Linked DNA regions of Homo sapiens: region 1 is linked to region 2. Evidence: promoter capture Hi-C in human tissues and cell types (Jung and others, 2019). All regions are on one chromosome and are shown on one strand. The core of a region is centred on a gene start or on the middle of the fragment in contact, and the rest is flanking DNA. Distances in the headings are between cores, read along the strand shown. Region 1 has its middle 40 kb from the start of LYZL1. Region 2 holds the start of C10orf126 (chromosome 10 open reading frame 126).

The links. The method cuts DNA at HindIII sites, captures the fragments that hold promoters and counts their contacts. A contact is called where the count stands out against the background at its distance.
Region 1: a contact is called between a fragment that was not itself captured here and the fragment with the promoter of C10orf126 in region 2, in 2 of the 25 tissues and cell types used here (H1 embryonic stem cells and mesenchymal stem cells).

The regions. Positions count from the first base shown.
Region 1 is chr10:29,325,504-29,331,860 of GRCh38, forward strand. No RefSeq gene overlaps it. Among named protein-coding and RNA genes, the nearest start is that of LYZL1, 40 kb to the left of the region's middle. The HindIII fragment of the contact is 5,763 bases long and covers 588-6,350 here.
Region 2 is chr10:28,844,475-28,850,376 of GRCh38, forward strand. C10orf126 (chromosome 10 open reading frame 126) reads left to right here and starts at 1,934. Exons shown (of 5, transcript NR_164114.1): 1 at 1,934-1,989; 2 at 2,645-2,789; 3 at 3,742-3,892. The HindIII fragment of the contact is 9,674 bases long and covers 1-5,902 here.

The DNA.
Region 1 (6,357 bases), core at 2,219-4,718, 480 kb after region 2:
CAGCGAGTGCTGACAAATGCAACCTGAAAAAACTCAGTTCCTAAGATTCCTGGCCTTCCAGTGAATATGCAGTGTTGGGGCATGTGGTTCCCTGATCAGTTAAAGAAGAATCTGTCCATTTCAGAAAGCAGACTGGAAGCTGCTTTCATCCAATCAATGAAATGGTGCTGCCTTTATTGGCATAGTAGTATGCATTGCACTCACAAGTTCAGACATCCAAGTCGTAGCTTGCTACCTGCTTGAATAAAGAAAAGGAAAGAGGAAGAGAGAAAAAATCCACTAAATTCTCAAAAGTACCTTGCAACACTGAACATAAAGTGTTGGGGCCATGGTATAATGGTTTGTCAGCTGAAAAATCAAAATTTTCTACACACAACAGATTCATGGGCATTGCAGAGGGTAACAACTAATGACATAATAATAATAATACCTAATAAATGTTCTTCTATGTTGGAAACACAGCTAAGGACTTTTCATTCATTAACTGAATATTCTTAACAATCCTATGAAACTAATCTTATCCTATTTTACAAATGAGAAAACTAAAGCCCAGAGAGTTTAATGAATTTGCACAAGTTTAGTTGATTAACCTAGTTAATTAACTAATAAGGTTAGTCCATTAGTTCAAGTAATTCAATTCCAGGTCTTTCAGATACTAAATCTCTCTTCTTGACCATTGTACTATGCTACCTCAATACATAGCCCAAAACAGAGTTCACCCAGAATTTTAGCCTCCCATTCCCGAGGAAATGTGAACAGTTGGAAAACATGTTGGAAAGAATATGGAGGGGTATTTTTCTTTCTCTCTGGGACCCTTCCCTCCTTGTACCAGAGAGTAAGTAACAAATAACCAAAGGGCGAGCAACAGAAAGAAGGGACCAAGGAAGAAATCTGAATTGATCAAGAGACAATTGTGCAAAGTATCCTGAACCAAATTCGGAGATGTTCCAGAAAGTTTACACACTTAGAGTCTCTACCCAGTTACAAAACATTTGTTAGCAAATGTTCATGCTGAATGAAGGACACACATTTCTCAACTGTATTCCTGACTTTCCTACCTGCTGACTTGGTAATTTCAAAAGACCTAGTATAGCTATGGGATATATTTCTCATGACCAAGTAGGTTCCATAATTTTATCTTAATACATCAACCATGTAATATTTTAAACTACTAGAAAAGCCTAAAATGGGAATGCGAAATGGCAAAAGAGAGTGGAGGAGAGAAGAGACAGCAGTTCTAACTCAGCCTTCCAAAAAGACTTTCAAAAAAGAAATATTCTAGATGAGGCCAGGAGAAGCCATCTAGAGTGGCACTGAAGCTCCAAAGAGTTCCACAAAGAGTGAATCAATTGCATTTATGTGCTTTGGAAAAAACAAAAAGCCCAAACTTGGGATTTCCTGTTAGCCCAGAGCAGCGTGGCTCTATCCCTAGGACTCAGTGGCTCCCAGTGCAAAAGCCGGTTCCCTATGTGAGTTATGTCCTGCGTTTGACCATCTGATCCGCATTTTCCCGTGGATTAATAATTTGACCACTCTGGAAGTCTTGCTGTGTGTACTGAAACCGTCTGTTAACTCTCCTGTGGACTGCTGGGTTTGGTATTTAATCTTCAACAGGAATTTCAGAAGGTCAAAGTCCCCATCTGAGAGGAGTGCCATGCAAGTAATGAAACCAGGCAGACAAGTTCACCCTCAAGGAGATGGAAGTCTTTGAGTGTGGTTGACAAAAGACCTTTAGACCATGGGCATTTGGGGCCTGGGGTAGAGCGAACGGAGAAGAAAATTAGCTTAGGGAGAGATTCTTAAATCAGTGGGAAAAAAGCAAAACATGTGACATGTGGAGTTGCAAGCTTCTGGGAAATTTGGTTTCTATTAACTGCACAAGCAATAGTTTTGGTCATTGTTGTTGATGTTGTGTGTGTATGCATTACGTTTAATGGGCACCCAGTGCAATGGCAGTAATAAAAATGGAACAGAACAAGTATGTGAAGGAATTAAAGCTAGAACTTACCAGTGTAAGTTTATTTCTAGTTGATTTTTGAAAAAAATAAAGCCAAATATTTGCAGGTCCCAGGCGCTCTGAAGTCTGTAGTTTCCCACCCTTACAGACAGCACCCCATGGTGTGTCAACTTTCTCATTTCAAAGTCCAAAGCATCCTAAAGCAAACATGAACCTCACAGTGAAATGGCCTCACTCTGATTTACACATCATTATTTCTCCAACTGTTGATTTAGTCCAGTCTTCCCTGATGGCATCTTCTAAAGGAAAGCTTCTTCATATTCTTCCCCAGGAGACAGTCAAGGCTGTCCACGGACAAGCGGGTTGAGACAGCATATTCCGTGCTGAATCTGAGGGCATAAGAAATTTGCTTGTGCTTTCTCCTATTTCAGTTCTGTAACCTCCATTCCAATGCAGTCATGTGAATCGTTTGCTTCTTTGGGTTAGTAATAGATGTTGCCGTTTATTGGCCACGTATATACTCAGCCCTCCCCTTATGGAGAGGCAACTGGAGAAACTGAGGTCTTTATCCAATGACCTGCTCCATGCCAGCATTTCTGTAATTGGGGGTTGGGACATCTGAGCTACAGGAACTTCTGAGAGTCCTAAGGCGGTGAGATATTGCTATAGTGACCACCAACATCAATGTTTGAAACATTTATAAAATAATAATAGTAGCTACATATAACTAAGAACTCACTATACCAGGAATCTTTCATACATTACCTTTATTTCTCAGACAACTCACCCTACATAGGAGGAGTCTAAGGCTGTAGACATTCAGGAAGCTTGGAAAGACCTTGCAGGTGGTAAAGGGCAGAACCAGAACTTGCATCCATGTATCCTTTTGACTTTGAAGCCTGTTTTTCCCTGGACCTCAGGGATGAGATAAGATGCCCAGCATCTATCCACTTCTTCACGCCTCCTCACACTCTTCCTTTTCTTATTCTTCAGCTCAAAGATCTGAGGTAGTATCAAGAGAGGACCATCCCTGGTGGGGGTCAGTGGCTCATATCTATAATCACAACACTTTGGGAGGTTGAAGCAGGAGGATTGCTTGAAGCCAAGAGTTCAAGACCAGACTGGGTAACATAGCAAGATCTCCTTCTCTATTTAAAAAAAATATATTTTAAAAAAGACAGCTGGGAACAGTGGCTCACGCCTGTGATCACAGCACTTTGGGAGGCCGAAGCAGGCAGATCACCTGAGGTCAGGAGTTCAAGACCAGCCTGATCAACATGGTGAAACCCCGTCTCTACAAAAATACAAAAAATAGCCAGGCATGATGGCAGATGCCTTTAATCCTACTTACTCAGGAGCCTGAGGCAGGAGAATCACTTAAACCTAGGAGGCAGAGGTTGCAGTGAGCCAAGATCGCGCCATTGTCCTCCAGCCTGGGTGACAGAGTGAGACTTCTTTTCAAAAAAAAAAAAAAAAAAGAGGGAACCATCCCTGAAAGTCTTCAAACAGTTGGTTAGCAGCTGTGAAACTTATGTGACTCCACCTTAAAATGAGGTGGTTTGTTTGATGTCTACCATTCGTACTGAAGGATAATTTGGAATATGGATAATCATAATATTTCTTATGGAAGCAGTCATGACCTAAAACTCTGGCAACTGCCATTGCCCTGGCGTGCTTTCCAAATGAGAACAGAGAAGATGCCTGGGATGACTTCCCACATTCCTGAGTGAGCTGCATGCTCGTGGTCTACTGCTTACCCCAGGTCATCTCTGCAGCAGCTCAGCAGCACCTTCCATCTACTGCCCCAAACATCACCCACATTTTGGTCTCCCCCACCTCCTCCCATTTTTGCAAAGCCAATTGGCTCTCATTATTCTGAACCAATCTTGCCTAGCTGTGTAACCACCACTTGAGAGAAAGTTAATTTTATACTCAGTGCATTTACTTCTATTTGAAATAGATATTAAGGGCGCTCTGCTTTCTAAATTCTCCCCAAGTGAAACAGAGCTCTCTATGAGGCCCCTGAGAACAACAGAGCATTAACACAATTCCTGCCCTGAAGACGTTGTGTCTCCTCTTAGGTCAAGAGCCAATAAGCACATAATTGGCCCTTAATTGTATGAACTGTATTCCCGGTGCTTTTCACAGCACATGGCATTGCGTAAGGGTCAACATGGCTTGCTGATTTATGTGTTGATCTCTCTCTCTCTCTGTGTGTGTGTGTGTGTGCGTGTGTGTGTGTGTGTGTGTGTGTGAAGAGAGAGAAGGGGATTTGGCAGTGATGGGAGGCCACAGCAAGGGGGGCACCAAGAATTAGATAACTCCTATAATCAGTGTTGTTTACTATTCATTAGCAAGAGAAAATACAATTGCAAGAAAATCCATTTATGATTATAGAGGAGAATGGAACTATGCATTCCAGATTTTTTTCCAACAAAACATTCAGACACAACTTACATTCACACTTTTCCCCTAGAAGTAATAATTAGCAAACAGCTGTCAGAAGGTTTGTTGACAACCTTTCTAATGTCAATGTCTTTCAAAAGACCCACTTCTTTGCAATGCCTCCACCCACCGGCTGGCTGAGGTCAAAGGAACATGGAGTGCGCGTGTGTATCTATGCCTGTCTGTATTTTCCACCATATTCTTCTTTCTCTTTCTCCCTCTTCCTTCCCCTCTTATTATTGTAGCATCCAGGTTTTGTCAATTATCAAACACTCAAACACTACATACACACATCCTTACATAAAATAATTCAATGAAGTGAAAAGAAAGTCCCATATCTTCCTCTCTGTTAGCACCATGGGTTAATGGAATGAACACTGAACTTCGGAATCAGAGACTTGGTTTCAAGTTCTAGATTCATTCACTTGCTAACTGTGTGATGGAAATTAGTTTAATCTCTGCAGTTGACTCCTCTGTAAAGTAAGATACTTAACTCATGGCATTATTCTTAGGATTAAAGAAACAAATGTGAATATGAACAAATGAACATAGTTTCTGATGTTCAATAAATACTCAACATACATTTCATTCCTGTCTGGTTTTTCCAGTGGCAGAAAAGATAACACACCAAAACCTTAGCCTGTTCATCAGGAAAGCCTAGACTTCAGATAAAGAACAAATGGAAGACTTGTTTAGAACACTGGCTCCAGTTTTTTTTTTTTTTTCAGTTATAGTTCCTAGCTCTATCCTAATGGATGATACTAATTTTGGAGAGAGTGAAGATTTTTCTGAGAGAAGAAGACATTCAAAGCTGATCTCTCAACAAGGGATGGCAGTATTTCCTCCATCAACATTATTTGTGCCTATTTTTAAATGTTATTTTAAAATAGCCATGGATTTTGCTATTGATTAATGAGTGTCACGGAGAATTGATCTGGTGTTTCTTCTCATTATCAAAGAGAATAAGAAGGAAATTTCCCCTTCCTTCTCGCATCAAGTATGGCTAAGCCTTTGGGTTTGGAGTTTTGGGCTCAGTTGCCCCCCTCCAGCCCCTTTGAGGTGGGACAAGATGGAAGGCCCCAGAGGAAGAGGGACAAGGCCTACTCTGGGGTCAGACTGAGAAAACCAAAGAAGTTGGTTTTAACACATGGCGGAGACACATTGTTACTCTGATGGGGGCAGTAGACTACAAGGAGGCCTGAAGACCAAGCACGGGTCTGACATCACCAGCAGAGCTGCTGCCTTGGAAAAAACGTGGAGTATCCCAAGCACAACTCTACTCATAAACCACAGACTCAGTTTGGGTTTCACCAGTTTCTCCACTAATCCTTTTTCTGTTCCAGGACCACACTGGATACCCCACTGGATTTAGTCATTGTGTCTCTTTAGTATCCCCTAATCTGTGACAGATTCTCTGTGTTTCCTTGTTTTTCAGGACCCTGACACTTTTGAAGAGTATTGGCCAGATATTTTGGGGACTGCCATTCCCTCTGGGTTTGCCTGGTGTGTCCTCATGATTAGGCTGTAGGAAAGGCTTTCCCCTTCTGACACACGCAACGACGTGGATGAAACTTGAGGATATTACGTTAAGTGAAATAAGACAGTCACAAAATGGTAAATACTGAATGATTTCACTTGTATGAGGTACCTAGAGTATGATTTCAAGTATCTACTCATACTGTCATAAATGGCTTTTGATTGTCATCTATAAATGGAAATGCTACCTCCTATAACCTACATTCCCACATGATCCAAAATTTTGGTGATTCATTATAGCACACAGATCTATAGTAGATGGTCAGCTCCAAAAGGCAGGAACTGGGACTTTTCCCTCTTATATCCTTGGCCCCTACCACAGTGTTTAAAAACTAATCATTAAGTAAGTAAGTGAGGCCACCATGCCTAAACCTAGCTTGCTGGGTATGTGGCAGACTGGATATGGAGGTCTTCCGTGG
Region 2 (5,902 bases), core at 684-3,183:
GATATTCTTGATGAATTGGATGTAGGATAGGGGAGAAAGAGAGGAGTCAAGGATGAATCCAAGAAGTGTTCTGTTTTAGGCCACAAGGACGAAATTGTCATCAACTAACTAACATGGGGAAGGTTGTGGGTACAGTGGGATAGGTAGGGAAAATCAGTTTAGTAGTGGACGTGTGAGTTAGAGAAGTATTTTAGATATTCAAGTGAAAATGATGAGTACGCTATTGGATATGCAGGTTTGGAGTTCAGGACAGAGGACTGGACTGGAGATATTCATTTGGGAGTTATCAGTGTGTGGGTAGTATTTAAAGCCATGGAACCACATGAGATCTCCAACGGAGTAAGTAGAGACAGAGATGAAAACAACAGCAACGACTGAGCCCCAGAGTAATTAGAAGTTAAAAGGGGCTAAGGACTGCAATGAATGTGCATGACAAGATCCATGTATTGCCATCAAAGTGAGTGACTGTTTCTAGGAGGGTAGAGGTCAAGATGCCTGAAGGAGGAGAGAAGTTTAATGACCTATGATGGTGGAGTTTTGGAAAGATTATTATCTATGCATTGAACATGCTCAGAAAAGAGAGGAGAAGTATTGGGGAGGATGCCAATGGGCTGAGAACTGATGTTGTTGAAAAAGGTGGTGAACAATGTTGGGCAGGGGTATTACAGGACCAACATGTTTGTATGCCTGTTGTGCAGAAACAGACCAATACACCAAGACAGCAGGCTTTGCAGCAGAGAGAGGGTTTGATGACAGCAGGGAGGCCGAGTGAGCAGATGGGAGAAGACCCTCAAATCCATCTCCCCGAAGAGTTCTAGGCTGAGGTTTTCAAGGGGATTATGGGGGGTGAGGGGCTGAAAAACTATAGTCATTGATTGGTTGGGGAAAGGGGGATGAAATCATCAGGATGTAGAAACTGCATTCTTCAGTGAGTCAGCTTCTCGTGGGGTCCTTCAGACCAGCTGGCGTCAGTAGTTTCATCAGTATGCATGACCTACAAGAATATCTCAAATGGAAAGCAACATTTCACAATGTTCAGTTGTTATCTGTGGAGCAGTGAAGGGGGACTCTAATCTTGTGACAGGGTCTGTGTGATTCTGGAGCAATAGGTAGCAAAACACTATGAGGAAGGATCAGAGAACAGCTGACCCCATGACTAACACTGAGTATGTGCAAGCTTGGCTTATTTTTGTTTCTCTCCCTCCCTTCTCTTCTGATTAATTGTATAAAGTTTCTAGGGACAGTTTCAGGGGTGATAGATGATGATGGTACGAGATTTGCAGTAGAAGGGAAGGAGAAGGTTCTGGAAGGGGAAAAGAGGACCAGCAGGGTCCCTCCATCACCTCCAGGTCTGCAGGAGGTGGCAGGAGGGCCTGGAATGAAAAACAGCCAGTGGCTGGGCGCAGTGGCTCACGCCTGTAATCCCAGCACTTTGGGGGGCTGAGACGGGCAGATCACGAGGTCAAGAGATTGAGACCATCCTGGTCAACATGGTGAAACCCCGTCTCCACTAAAAATACAAAAATTAGCTGGGTGTGGTGGTGTGTGCCTGTAATCCCAGCTACTTGGGAGGCTGAGGTAGGAGAACCACTTGAACCCGGGAGGTGGAGGTTGCAGTGAGCTGAGACCGCACCACTGCACTCCAGCCTGGCTACAGAGGGAGACTCCATCTCAAAAAAAGAAAAAGAAAAACAGCCAGCGCATGAGAGAAGATGTGAGCATCGTCCTCAGGGAAGAGTCAGTTTTTGTCAGAACAAGGAGGGACTATTTGGAAGTTAGTTTGGGATGTGAGGCGTTTTGCTATTAGTGGATCAGGCTGATGGCACCGTGGAGGGGTTTCAGGAGTCAAGAACAGGTGGGAGAAAGTTTCCCAGTGCAGGTTGTGCAAGCCTCCTGGCCCGGAGAGTGTGGGTGTGACGAGTGGCTTGAGAGACAGGGATGAAGAGCATGAATGCGAATGTACAGCACTGAGCTCGCGTCTGCCACATGGTAAGCTCTTAGAAGACCTCAGCTTCTTATTCATTTTGTCACAAATCGATTAATTACTGAGCTGAAGGACATATTAGAAAACGGTCAATAGCAATACTTCTAACTTCCAATCTGTACTTACGCTTGGCATTCAATCGATGTTATCAAAACCTGTGCCAGCTCCAAGGAAGAGAGAACACTGTTTTCTGATTTAGTTGCTTCCTGAAAGGAGCTGAGAGCTGTAAAACACAGGCAAGATTGGACTTTTCAATAATGCTTATATATTGACTTGCAGAAACAATATTAGAACTTTTTTAAAATGCACACATTATCTCCTTAGGGTAAGGGAAAAGGTTTTACCTTTTTATTTTTGCATCTCCCCTTTGAGTGAACATCATTCTTTTTTCTTTAACTCACAACTTTACAAGGTATTTGGAGAAATATAAGGGAGAGATAGTTTCTGTTTCTCACCTCTTTAAGCAATGTCCTCTTGTATACCAAATAATATCTTCCTGTGGTTAATGATATGAGAAACAGAATGCCTCTCCAGAAACCTTTTCACATCCCAGATTCAGAGTTCCTGAGGCCAGAATCTGATCTGACATATTTTACTACTTAGGTAAATCCTTAATCTCAAGAGTGATGAGAGTGAAGTCTTTTTATGTTTGTTTTTTAGAGATGGGCCTCTTTCTGTCGCCCAGGCTGGAGTGCAATGGTGTGATCATAGCTCACTGCAGCCTCAACCTCCTGAGCTCAAATAGTCCTCCTGCCTCAGCTTCCTGAGTTGCGACTACAGCCATGAACCACTGCATCCAGTTCAGGTTTTTTGTTTGTTTGTTGTTTTCCTTAAAAAACACTAGTGATTCTATTTTGATTCTGACAACTTTCATAAGGTCCAGGGACAAAATAAATGTGTTATCTCTTGGGAGGAGATGGATTTATAAGCCCATGGGCACCATTCAGAGGCCATATGCCCTGGAAGCACTGAGGAATGTGCTCAAAGCAAACCCTTGGGTCATCCTTGACTCTTCTTTTGCTCTCACATCCACATCCAATCTATGAGGAAATTAACTTAGCTCAGGTAGTTTAAAAATCCATCTGAATGTTGCGGCCAGGCATGGTGGCTCATGCCTGGAGTCCCAACTACTCAGGAGGTTGAGGCGGGAGGATTGCTTGAGCGCAGGAGCTCGAGGCTGCAGTGAGCTATGATCATGCCACTGCACTCCAGCCTGGGCAACAGAGCAAGGCTCAGGCTGGTCTTGAACTCCTGGCCTTTAGTGATCCTCTTGCCTTGTCCTCCCAAAGTGTTGGGATTACAGGCACGGGCCACTGAGCCCTGCCTAAAACGTTCAATGTCAGTGACTTGGAAGAATGTTCTGGTGGACGGGAAAGCCCCGGATGGAGAGAGGATTCAGGCATTTGAGAGGTCAGAGAGAAGCAAGGTATCCAAGGACAATGGAATTGGCTGCTTGTTGCTCAATTGAATTGAGGCTCTACATTAGGATAATGAAAAGCTGTAGGCAGTTAGGGAGCAATTGAAAGCCACTTGTGAAGGCCTGAGGGCCTCCAGGAATGGGGCCCATATTCACTCCATTCAGTGTAGAAAAAGCAGAAGACCAAACTATGGATTTAATAGGCTTGCCTAGCTTCAAAGATGATTATCATTACACAAAGATCAGAGCACTGGTTGGGAAAACATGGAGCTCTTGTGCACGGGATGGGGACATTTGGGTGGATGCCTCCAAATATTTTGAGCTCTCAAACTCTTCTAAGCCCTCAGAGCCTGCAGAGGTGGCTCATCCTTCCCTGTTATGATCTGAAACTACCCATATGGGCCAACACCACAGAGTTCTGTCCCCACGGGCCAAGGAGGGCTTCTCAGGATCCTCAACTTCTTGCCTGGTTGCCAGACCAATCACTAGAGGTAAGTCGCAACATCACCAAGCCAAGAATATTATGGCAACACTGATGAGCTAGAAAGAGACTGTACCTCCCTCAAACTGTGAAAAATTCACCCCCATGTACTAGAAGGAAGGAACTGGATTTTGAAGGCGCTTGATCAAGGAGGCAGGATAAAGGAGAATACAGGAATGTGAGGGCATTTTCTCAGGATATGGGACTTAATGCTTGGCAAAGACCCTAGAGGATGGTGCAGACTTGCTGCTTGGGTGGTTCAACAAGCCTGGAGATAGGTCCATGCTGAGCGGAGCTGAAACAGATTTTTAAAGGCTCAGGGAAGTGAACATGCTGGTATATTATGGCGATCAGAAGACCCATCAGAGGATTATTATGCCCAGGGAGGTCTGGAGAACACAGCATTCACCAAGCCATTGGGAAATTAGCTGAAGGCTTTCCTCTGCAGACCACAACTGGTGGTGTGAAAGGCTGTTGTGGAGTTGAATCCACAGAGAGTAGTGATGATGGGGTGAAACAGATGGGAATCTTGTGAGGATACTTCTCAATACATCTAATCAAAAGATAGCCAACACAGGCCAGGCGCAGTGGCTCCCACCTGTAATCCCAGCACTTTGGGAGGCCGAGGTGGGTGGATCACTTGAGGTCAGGAATTCAAGACTAGCCTGGCCAACATGGTGAAACCCTGTCTCTACTAAAAATACAAAAATCAGCTGGATGCGATGGTGTGCACCTGTGGTCCCAGCTACTTGGAGGCTGAGGCAGGAGAATCACTTGAACCCAGAAGGTAGAGGTTGCAGTGAGCTGAAGTTGTGCCACTTCACTCCAGCCTGGGAAACAGAGTGAGACCTTGTATTAAAAAAAAAAAAAATCCAACAAGGATGCCCAGGAGGCTGAGGGTGTTTGCTCTATCAAACATTTGCAATTCCTTGTCTAGTACCTGGAACCTGAGGCAGTTTTCAGACCTGGAATCCCCCAATAGAAAGGGTGGCCATGTTCCCAGGATGAAGGACCCAGCAACACCACACCAAGTCTATGGGTATAATTCCTTTTGTCCTTCCCCAAAAGACATTTATTCAAGTGACTCTACTCTGGGGAAAAACTCCCAGATGTTTTGAAGATTACTGGATGCCCTGCAGGGATGGATGGAGGTAGGCATTGAGGTGTGCAATGATTCAGATCTTCACTGGAGAAAGGACTTACCTGGCAGCTTCAAGGAGTGTAGCCAGCCGACAGCTTCCAGCTGCAGCACCTGGAGGATCTGCTTCAGCTTTTCAACCAAGACCACACTTTTTCTGGGCAGCTCCCAGCCAATACCGGCACCATGGTGGTACCAAGGCCGTGTCTGTCCAACACAGGAATCCTCTTTGCTCCAGAGCTTCCCATCATGTTGGTCAAATCCGTGTCTGACCCACCAAAATCTGAGGCTCTCTCTTGTCTATCTTGTTTTCTACCCTTTTTCCTTTTGTAAGTGTCAAATCTGCATCGTGATCTGAAGGCTTTCCATGCTTGGGCAATCTTGATATTTCCTCTTACGCTTTTTACAAATATTACCCCCCACCCCAAATCTCTTGCACTTCTAAATCAACCTCATTGTCTGCTTTCCTTAGGATGCAACTGACATGATGCTCTGGTCTGCTGGGTTGTAGTCTGTTTAGCCACAGATAAGGCAGTCGGGTGCGGTCAATGGCTTTGCAGAGGCTTGCTAACACATGGAAATGTTTATGCACATTTAAAAAGTTGATTCACAAAGTAGTACCAGATTTTCTCATTACAGTATTTTAATGCAGGGGCTCTTACAGTTAAAATATTCTGGAAGTTAAGTAGGAAAACTACATTGAAGATAAATCTAAGTTAATTACAGATGCAAAATTTTTGTTTTAAATGTAAGCATCTACCCTACCTCCTTCAACCAGAGTTAGGCTGGGGTTCTGTGAATTGCACACAGACGTTTCTTGCTTGTTATGGAATTTGCTTTTTGTATTTCGGAAGCAACTACATTCTGGGCAACAAAACCAAA